Linked DNA regions of Homo sapiens: regions 2 and 3 are each linked to region 1. The links are contacts of gene promoters, found by promoter capture Hi-C in blood cells and fetal thymus (Javierre and others, 2016). All regions are on one chromosome and are shown on one strand. Each heading gives the region's core, a stretch centred on a gene start or on the middle of the fragment in contact. The rest is flanking DNA. Distances are from core to core; before and after follow the strand shown.

Region 1 (3,115 bases), core at 228-2,727:
TATTCTCCAAAATAAACCTGTCTCTGTTAAGCTGCTTTTTGTGTTTCTTTCTTTAACTCTTACAGTTTCCATCTCCAGGCTCAAGAAAGTTTACTTTCTCATTTCTTCTTCCCTCAAATGCACTAGAATAGATCCTTACTTAGGGCCTTTGAATTAGTGTTATCCTTTTCCTGGAATGCTCTATGCTCTGATTTTTGCGTCTGTTATTCAAATCGCTGCTAAAATATCTCCTCCTTAAAAGGGCATCCCCTTTACTAGCCACTCAGTCACCATCACCATCACGTCACTTATTGTAACTTCTTTGCATACAGCTTAAAACCAACAGATTTTTTTTCTTTTCACCCTCAGATAAGTTCCCTAGAATCTACACTACTTGTCTTCATCATTGTTCAATCAACAGCCTAGAGTAGTGTTTGTTGAATGAAGAAATGAACAAACGAATGCACCCTTTCTTCCGTGACCCTCTCCTCTGAACAGGGCAAAACTTAACTCATAACGAGGATACACTCAAAAATGTCTTTCTTATTGCCAGGTGTTTCCACTCTTGAGGAACAGATGCCCTTTAGGAGACAGGGCAATTTGACTGGACTGGCCCTTCCGATTTTAGGTGAAAATAATCACCATAACAGCTTTTCATCTCTGGCTAGGCTTCCCAGTGACCAAAGCTTTACTTTCCGATTTCCATACCACGTAAAGACATCAGGGTGAGCACTAGGGCCCTGAGAACCCTGGAAGCTACTTCTTGGCTGGGATAGGGCTGGTTGCCCGGTGCGCTGTGAGTGGTCCTCCCCGGAGATGCTGGGAGAAGGGGCGGAGCCATCAGAAAGGATGAGCCTTCCTTGGGCCTTCGGATCTGGTGGGGCTGCCACTTTGGGAAGGGCCCCGGGCTTCGGAAGAAAGCAAAACTAGCCTTGTGGCGAAGAAGGAGCCCAGCTGGCCCCAGGCTGTTAAGACTAAGGGGTCGAGGGAAAAGAGGCAGAGCCTGAAACCAAATCTGCGGAGCAAGCCAAGGCCTGGGGACTTGCCAGAGGGAAGGGTTAAGCCGTTTCCAAGGCAACGGACCAGGAAGCGCGCAAGACGTCCGCCGCAGGTTCGTAGGTCGCCCTCGAATTTAAAGCTCCCAAGGCTGAGTGGGTCCCGGCCAATGGAGAGGCCCCCTTTAAGTCATGTGACCAGCGGGGCTGCCCCGCGGGCTGCTCCGCGGGCTGCACTGGAGCACGTGGGAAGGCTTTTTTTCCTGTTCCTTCTTTCCCTTTTTAAACGCCCACCCACTTTTGCGCGGGCTCGGCCGCGGAATTTTTCTCGCGAGAGGCGCGCTGCCCTCTCGCGAGAGAGAGTGGGAGGCGTGGAGAGTAGGCGGTGTTGCGGGCCGGAGCTGCGGCGGCGGCGGCGGCGGCGGAAGCCGAGGGGTGGGCAGGGCGGGGGCGGGCCGCGGGGCTGGGAGGGGGAGGGCTGGGGGTCAGCGCGGGAGGGGGCCAGCTTGCTTGCCCGGCTCGCTCACGGGTCGTTGAGGCCGGTGACATGTCTGTGAGCTGCGGAGGCTGCGGCCCCCAGGTGAGCCGGGCGCCGACGTGCTCGCCGCGGAGGCTGCGTTTAGATGGGGTGGCGGCGGGTGTGCGGCCGGCATGGATGGAGCGGCCCGGCTCCGGCGCTCCAGCCCCTCCGCCTGCCGCTGGTCCCCCTTCTGGCTTCGGGGCCGCCCGAGAGCTGCGCCTTCGCATGGCGGAGGGAGGAGGGCGGGAGGAGCGCGGCCGAAGGAGGAAACTCACCGCACCGGGCCCAGAGTAGAGGGAGGTGCTGGGTCTCGAGACGCGTCTTCCTGGGGTCCCAAGTGTGGCGGTGGAGCTGCCGCCCCTTTTAATGACAGGCTGTTTCCATCCCCGGGGTGGTCTTCAGAGACGGCCCCCCGGGTGCGTGGTGCGCGTGCTTAGTGTGTGTTCGTGGTGTGCGCACAGGAACATTTGCAGCGGTTGGGAGGACGTTGCACTTTGTTCCCGAACAGCATCCTTCACTGTCAGACCCCCGGAGCCTTGGAAGCAGGCGCTGCTCAGATCTTGTAAACGGAAGGCGTCAAGGGGCTCCTCAGAGTATTGATATTTGGATTTGCTGTCAAATACTCTCCTAGGCTGTTAATGGCTTAAGGCTGGCCATAAAGTACCCCGAATGGATTGAGTATACTGCTGTTAATCCAGGCATCTAAGCTGCTTTATAAAAAATATGTAGATGTAACCGAAGTATTAAAAAGTGACAATGACAGTAAAAGCTAACATTTTTTCTCTTCCCCATATTACCAGCTTTCATTTTTTTTCTCTGCTTTGTCTGTCTTCTAAAACCATATAAAGTTGGATGTGGTTTAGCTTTAGATGTTAAGGAGTTTCATGGTGAGAAAGACTGCTGAGATACATACCTAATAGCTTTAGTACAAACTGGAGTTAATTCCTGTTCTCTTTTCAGCTTTTCAATCGCTTGCAAAATGCTCGTTTTGCTTAGCTGCTTCCCACTGTTTTAGAAATGTCATGTCGATTGTTATTTTGTTATGTCTGAAAATACTCAAAATATGGAGTACTAAGAAAAAATGGGGTATCAGTAATGCACAGATATATTTTTTTTAATGTCATCATTTTAGGATGGCAGCCCAGTGCCTGGCATGATTGGTGTCAGTTAAAATAGTGCAATTGAATGATTTTTTTTTTTTTTGAAAAACACATTTACTTTTTCAAACGGTACCCTGATTATTCATTTTTTCTTGTCGTTGTTCCTCCTGACAAAACTGACCCAGGGGTGGACAGTGAATGTCACTATTGTAGCTGTAACAGTAATTTATGAAAGGTCAAAGAATGTAAGGAAATCAGGGAAGAAGTGGGTTCCCAAGCTGAGCTAGAGACTAATGTATGTACCCACATAACTGCAGTATCGACAATATTGATAAGGGCCTAGCAGTGGACTCCTAGGCCAGTGATATTTTGCAGTTGTTGAGGATATGGGAAGTTGCCTAAGACATGGAACCATAGTGAGAAATTCTCTAGCCTTCTCTAGCCCCCTGAACTCCAGGGATAAGTCTAGAAGCTGAAGAAGTCCTCTTTTGCCTTTAGAGGCTGGAAAAAATACGGTACTT
Region 2 (3,362 bases), core at 192-2,691, 3.1 Mb after region 1:
CAATTTTGTCCCATAATTGAAAGCTTGTGGCATTCTGTGGCGGACGGCTACGGAGCTAGCTCTTCCCTTTACTATTTCGCACTTGGTCTTGGAAAAGTATGTTGTCGCTTTAAGATGAAGTTGAAATTTTATCCCTGGTGCTAGAGGGTCACACAAAGGGAGTTTCCCACCTGCCCCACCTGTTTTTTGAAGGACTTTACACCCAATTACTAAGTATTAAAACAAAACAGGTCCTGCATGGTAGCTCATGCCTGTAATCCCAGAACTTTGGGAGGCAACTACTGAAACCCTGTCTCTACACACACACACACACACACAAATTAAAAATTAATTGGGTGCGGTGGTGCCTGCCTGTAATCCCAGCTATTAGGGAGGCTGAGCTGGGAGGATCGCTTGAGCCCGGGAGTTGGAGGTTACACTGAGCTATGATTGCACCACTGCGCTCCAGCCTGAATGACAGAGCAAGACCTTGGCTCAATAGCAAAACAAAACTTCCGTATTTAGTCACATCGTCACATCTTTGGCATAAGGCAAAGATACATGCCAGTATGAAGTCTGAAAGCTTGTTCTATTTCGCAAATATTTTGTGCTTTGTATCCCTTAGAACTAGGATTTGCACCAAGATTCCAATTGTGAACAAGTTCGATCCAGTCCTACTTATAGAAGTGTTCATTCTGGTAAATCAAAGTATCAGACAATTATAATACATTAACAATTGTTCATAAATCCAATAATATAGCATTCAGCAGAGTAAGAATGCAACCCTTGGGAAAGAGCAGGACACAGGATGGCAATTGGAATGATGGAAAAGTCAAAATGCAAGAGCCAAGAAATTAACCCCTTTAAGAAGATGGGGGGACTGGGCGTGGTGGCTCACACGTGTGATCCCGACACGCGCCTGTAATCCCGGCTACTCGGGAGGCTGAGGCAGGAGGATCGCTTGAACCCGGGAAGCGGAGGTTGCAGTGAGCCGAGATCGCGCCATTGCACTCCAGCCTGAGCAACAAGAGTGAAACCCCGTCCTCCCCCACCCCCAAAAAAAGAAGCTGGAGTTCTTGGATGGAAAACTCCAGAGGACATTGGGCAACTGGGAGGAAGCTAAAAAGGGGGGAAAGGGAAAAAAAAAGATGGGGGTCTTGGATGGAAAACTCCAGAGGACATTGGGCAACTGGGAGGAAGTTAAAAATGGGGTGAAAGGGATCCCAAAATAAATGGATATGACACATGGTCAGTGAAGGCTCTCAAACCTCATTTCTGGAATGTATGAGATGATTATCACACATTAATACTGTGTGAACATTTTTTTTCCAGATTATTACAGTATAATTATTTTCTACCCCGCCCCGCCCAGATGGGGTCTTGCTCTGTTGCCCAGGCTGGAGTGCAGTGGCATGATCTCGGCTCACTGCAACCTCTGACTCCCGGGTTCAAGCGATTCTCCTGCCTCAGCCTCCTAAGTAGCTGGGATTACAGGTGCCTGCCACCACGCCCAGGCAATTTTTTTGTATTTTTAGTAGAGACAGGGTTTCACCATGTTGGCCAGGCTGGTCTCAAACTCCTGAGCTCAGGCGATCTGCCCGCCTCGGCCTCCCAAAGTGCTGGGATTACGGGCGTGAGCCACTGCACCCGGCAAGTATAATTATTTTCTTCAGTTTTAATACTTCCAAACTATTCAGAAATATTATCATTGACCCATGCAGTACTCTCAAACATTACTCTCAACTGCCCAATCTCATATTCAGGTCGAAACAGTTCTTTAAGTTTTATAAAAATATAGTCGTGGTGAAAAAAAGTACTGAAGAGTCATGGCACCCTAGATTAAAATCTTGCCTTTGGCCGGGCGCGGTGGCTCACGCCTGTAATCCCAGCACTTTGGGAGGCCGAGGCAGGTGGATCACTTGAGGTCAGTAGTTTGAGACCAGCCTGGCCAACATGGTGAAACCTCGTCTCTACTAAAAATACAAAAATTAGCCGAGCCTGTTGGCGGTTGCCTGTAATCCCAGCTACTCAGGAGGCTAAGGCAAGAGAATCGCTTGAACCTGGGAGACGGAGGTTGCAGTGAGCCGAGATTGCGCCACTGCACTCCAGCCTGGGCAGCAGAGCGAGACTCTGTCTCAAACTACAAACAACAACAAAAATTTTATTGATAAAATTGCGGGCTCTGAAAAGAAAAGATCTTGAACACCCAACCAATGAGAATAAACAGACGGTTGAGAAACAATTTAGTGAATAGTGAACAACTTTATTTAAAATGAAATAAGAATAGAAAAGAAAAATCATATATAAAGGCGAATCACAGTAAAGGTGAGTATTATTTTGTGAAGCTTTTATTTTATTTTTATTTTATTTTATTTTATTTTATTTTATTTTATTTTATTTTATTATTTTTTGAGAATGAATCTCGCTGTGTTGTCCAGGCTGGAGTGCAGTGGCACCATCTCGGCTCACTGCAACCTCTGGCTCCCAGGTTCAAGCGATTCTCCTGCCTCAGCCCCCTGAGTAGCTGGGATTACAGGCACGCGCCACCACTCCCAGGTATGTTTTAGATTTATGTATGTATGAATGTACTAGATCCCACATATATTTCTTCCTGTGGTTATAAGTCAAGTGTTTTGAAATCCATTGACTTGGGCAAATTTTCTTTTCAAATATATTACTTGGCACCATAAACTCTTCAATTTCAGCAAATGATTTTTTTAAATGACCCCAGTGTTTTGTGAATACTTATATTTGACTCTAGCTCATTTGAACAATTTTTGCCAGAAAGAGAAAACAGCCAAATGGAGATCTGGCTTGCTGTGTAGGGGCTGAGAGAAGTGTGATCATTCTGACCCTCTATTAGCAGGAAACTGCTCAACAGTCACATCTTGAAAGTAACTTGAGGCAACTGCAGGAGGGCTGCATGGCGGGAAAGAAATTGCTGAAAACAGGCTGGGTGAGCTGGCTCGTACCTGTGATCCCAACACTTTGGGAAGTGAAGTTGGGCGGATCACTTGAGGTGAGGAGTTTGAGACCAGCCTGCCCAACATGGTGAAACCTCGTCTCTACTAAAAATAATAAAATTAGCCAGGCATGGTGGTAGGCGGCTGTAGTTCCGGCTATTCGGGTGGTTGAGGCCTGAGAATTGCTTGAACCTGGGAGGTGGAGGTTGCAGCGAGTCGAGATTGCACCACTGCACTCCAGCTTGGGTGACAGAGCGAGACTCTGTCTCAAAAAAAAAAAAAAGAAATTGCAGAAAATTTTTCTCCCCTCCCTTTTTCACTACTGTCCTTGACTAGTTAAAAAAAAAAAAAAAGCCGGCTGGGCGTGGTGGCTCATGCCTGTAATCCTAGCACTTTGGGAGGCCGAGGCAGGTGGATCAC
Region 3 (3,203 bases), core at 704-3,203, 3.2 Mb before region 1:
TGTGACAAATTTCTAGGCATATAATTAGCAAACCAATATTTTATTTCAAAAATTAATTGGACACTTAGGTTTGCAAAAGCAGAACTTGTTCAAAAAAGAATGTTCAGTATTATCAAATATGAAAACTTAAACACGTCAATTTGAAAAAAGAAAAAAGCTGTATAAAAACAAAGCAAAACAGCAAGACCAGAGACAATTTTAATAATAGCTTTGTAAACTGAAATAAGCACCAGAGCACATGGCAACAATTTCTTCCGTTTCAGTCAAGGGTCGTAAAGGTATGCAGCTGACGAAAGAATAATTGCCCGGAAGGCCGAAGGAAAGCACCGTGTGTTGATGTAACAATGGTACATCAAGTCCTTACATTTTAAAATAAGTAACTTCTCGGTATTTTTGTGCTTGAGATATTGTTAGGCTCAAGACTACCTTCCAGAATTGTTGCTGTCTGGTTCACTCTGGGAAATGCGATCCACACAACAGCCTCAAAAAGCAGCAAAAACTTGGAAAGCAGGAGAAAAAAGTTTTGAAGCTCAAGTTATTGACGGCCAATTCCTAAGAACGTGACTTTAAACTTAATGCCACACTTACCATCAGGACACGAATTTTGCATGGCCAACGCAACAAATATACTCTACCTTATGCTTAGATTTGAAAACCCCATCATAATAACTACCATAAAAGAAACTTTCTGCGTATTACCTCTCGTTTTCAGTCACTCTTGTGTTACTGAAAGATGAGGCAATAAACTCAAAAATATTAAACCCCTTACCCAAAAAGTACAGAGCTATTACGGATTTGTAAAGCCGGCTTTGGAACCGAGGGCTTTACAAATGTAATTCCCACGACACCGTGCTGAGTCTCAAATTTGGCGTTAACGTAACTTAATTTCTATTTGTACTGGAAACGTATCAAGATATAAACTCCTCCATTACACGTGAAAATTCAAACCAATTTGGCAATCCTAGGACCCTTATTCTGCACAATCTCCATACAGTACCTCAAAGAGAGTCTAAAACACGAGAATTCATCTCATAAAATAATTCATGGAATCGGTCTAATTACCTTTCTAATTTCATCCAGCACCATTTCAAAGGACTTTTTATCCATCTTGACTACTATCCCGACGTGGTTTTAACAGTTATACTTGCAATTAAAAGACGTTCATCCCTGGTCTGCTCCGCCGATAGTAAAAAATATTTATAGCTGAGGAGGAAAAAGACTCCACGAGCAAGAGAGGATGCGAAGAGGTAGAGAGTATTGCAAACTTCGCAAAAAAAATTTCTAAAAATTGAGATTCAGAAAAACTCTTTTTATTAAAAAGAAAAAACACTCCAGTCAGGCTTCCCCAGCTTATTCACACAATGGTTCAGGGCACCTCGGGCAAGAGCCAGGTCCTCTGAGTTTTGCAGAAAAACCCGGGCTCGGCGGCAGGTTTGAGTGCGGTTTCCCTGCAGCTGAGGGCCAGGTGCCGCCAGAGGTAGCTCTTGAAGGCGCTTTCCCAGGTGGAGCGGCCGGCAGAGTAGAAACACCTGCGCTCAGAGTCCACGGGCGGCGGGGAGGGAGGCGCCGGTCTCTCGACCCGCACCTGCGCCTCGGCCGCCGGCCGCGACCCTCACCGCCGCGAACCCGGACGCATGGTCCGGCTCGCGCTCATCCCCAGCCGCTCCGCCCGACTCCTGGATACCTCGGCCCCGGCAGCAGGCGGCCCGGCAGGCTCTTTGTTACCAGCTGCTGCAGCTTCCGGGAGCGGGCCGGCGGCTGGGGAGCACCAGGAGCCGGGCGAAGAGGGGCACGGCCTCGCATAGGGGGACTCCGGAAAAACGCAGCCCCAACAGCGCCAGACGCCCTGCCTGGTTACCCCTACAGCCCCCACCAGCTCATGGGGACCTACAATAAAGCCAGTCGCGCCCAAGTAAACTCAACACTGCGCCGCCAGCTTGGGCCCCTCTTTCCTGAAAGCCAGAGGTGGGGTCCTGGTGTGGGAATATAGGCATCCATAGCGGATGCCTGGATGGTAGGAATAGGATGTGGCAAAAATCCTTCCCGAAGCCTAGCGGTCATTATTTTGAATGTCATCCCCACCATACCTCGTGTCTGAGTGTGCGATGTTTTGATTTTGCCCTCTGGATTAAAAAGAATAAATGGCGAGCGATTAAGGCATATCTACGGGCGCCCATACTTTGGTGGCCACTGAAAGTCAGCGGCGCGGACTGCCCTGAGGGCGGGAAAGGGTGGTCACTGGGTCAGCCCGAAGCACCTGACATGAGGGCGGGGACCCCGAAATGCACACGAAGTCCGGAACTGGTCTTCTGTGATTTTCATTCGCCCTGGTCTCTGTTCCCTTTCGTACTCAAAGCTCGTGCATCCAGGGAGGGGAAACCGGAGATAGGGTCTTCGGGCCCCGGGCAGACCCTCTGTGCCGCTGCAAACCGTTGCAGCCTGAGGCTGTCAGGTCCTCCCCCAGACACCTGCGGACCCTCCCTCTCCTGGCTTCCCGTCTGGTCATGGCGAGATTCTGGGTCTGCGTAGCCGGTGCTGGCTTCTTTCTTGCATTTTTGGTTTTGCATTCGCGTTTTTGTGGCTCTCCAGTGAGTTGGGTAGTGAGGAAATGACTGTCGGGTGTGCGGGTAGCCCTGTTGGGAGGCGTCGCCACGGTCGTGGCATGGAGGTGGCAGGCCCTGGTTCCCTCAGTAGCTTGTCTCAAAGCCTGCACCTGGGTCCAAACTGCCTTGACCCTTTGAGTTTAAAAATTTGTGTATGTTACATCGCCATTTTCCTCTTTCCCAACTCTTACTACATCCTCAAATAATTTGCAGACTTGTATTGTGGTCGTGTTGGTCTTTAGGCATCTAAGCTCATTTCTTTGGAATTATTTCAGTCCAGCAAACTTCTAGTTGTCAAGGCATGCTTAAAAATAAGCCCTGTTACCCGGCCCCCCCGCCCTTTTTTTGTTCTTACCTAGACGGTAAACTAAATCTGAATTGTCTGATTTTGTTTAAGGTTTTGAGGAACTTTACTTTTGCAGTTTCCTGGAGAACTGAGAAAATTCTTTACCGGCTGGATGTGGGTTGGCCTAAGCACCCAGAATATTTTACCGGAACAACATTTTGTGTTGCAGTTGACTCCCTCAATGGATTGGTTTACATAGGTCAAGTAAGTAAATAGAGATTTAAAAAAATTATGAACACAAAGGAAGTAACAGC

Evidence for each region. The method cuts DNA at HindIII sites, captures the fragments that hold promoters and counts their contacts. A CHiCAGO score of 5 or more calls a contact.
Region 2: a fragment that was not itself captured here is called in contact with the fragment with the promoter of AKAP11 in region 1 in 1 of 17 cell types (naive CD8 T cells); the score reaches 6.2 in naive CD8 T cells.
Region 3: the fragment with the promoter of PROSER1 here is called in contact with the fragment with the promoter of AKAP11 in region 1 in 5 of 17 cell types (naive CD8 T cells, naive CD4 T cells, total CD8 T cells and 2 more); the score reaches 10.7 in naive CD8 T cells.

What each region holds. Positions count from the first base shown.
Region 1 is chr13:42,270,675-42,273,789 of GRCh38, forward strand. It overlaps AKAP11 (A-kinase anchoring protein 11), which reads left to right and starts at 1,478. Exons shown (of 13, transcript NM_016248.4): 1 at 1,478-1,554. RefSeq lists an enhancer at 668-847 and a silencer at 1,388-1,737. The HindIII fragment of the contact is 2,900 bases long and covers 664-3,115 here.
Region 2 is chr13:45,341,912-45,345,273 of GRCh38, forward strand. TPT1-AS1 (TPT1 antisense RNA 1) reads left to right here. Exons shown (of 11, transcript NR_024458.1): 2 at 1,515-1,629; 3 at 2,468-2,535. It overlaps LOC124903169 (a long non-coding RNA gene), which reads left to right. Exons shown (of 2, transcript XR_007063781.1): 2 at 1,376-1,392. Among named protein-coding and RNA genes, the nearest start is that of TPT1-AS1, 2.2 kb to the left of the region's middle. RefSeq lists an enhancer at 711-1,498. The HindIII fragment of the contact is 1,762 bases long and covers 561-2,322 here.
Region 3 is chr13:39,036,136-39,039,338 of GRCh38, forward strand. PROSER1 (proline and serine rich 1) reads right to left here and starts at 1,954. Exons shown (of 13, transcript NM_025138.5): 1 at 1,063-1,954. The coding sequence starts at 1,107. It overlaps NHLRC3 (NHL repeat containing 3), which reads left to right and starts at 2,321. Exons shown (of 7, transcript NM_001012754.4): 1 at 2,321-2,588; 2 at 3,001-3,153. The coding sequence starts at 2,505. RefSeq lists an enhancer at 183-292 and a silencer at 1,435-1,664. The HindIII fragment of the contact is 10,591 bases long and covers 1-3,203 here.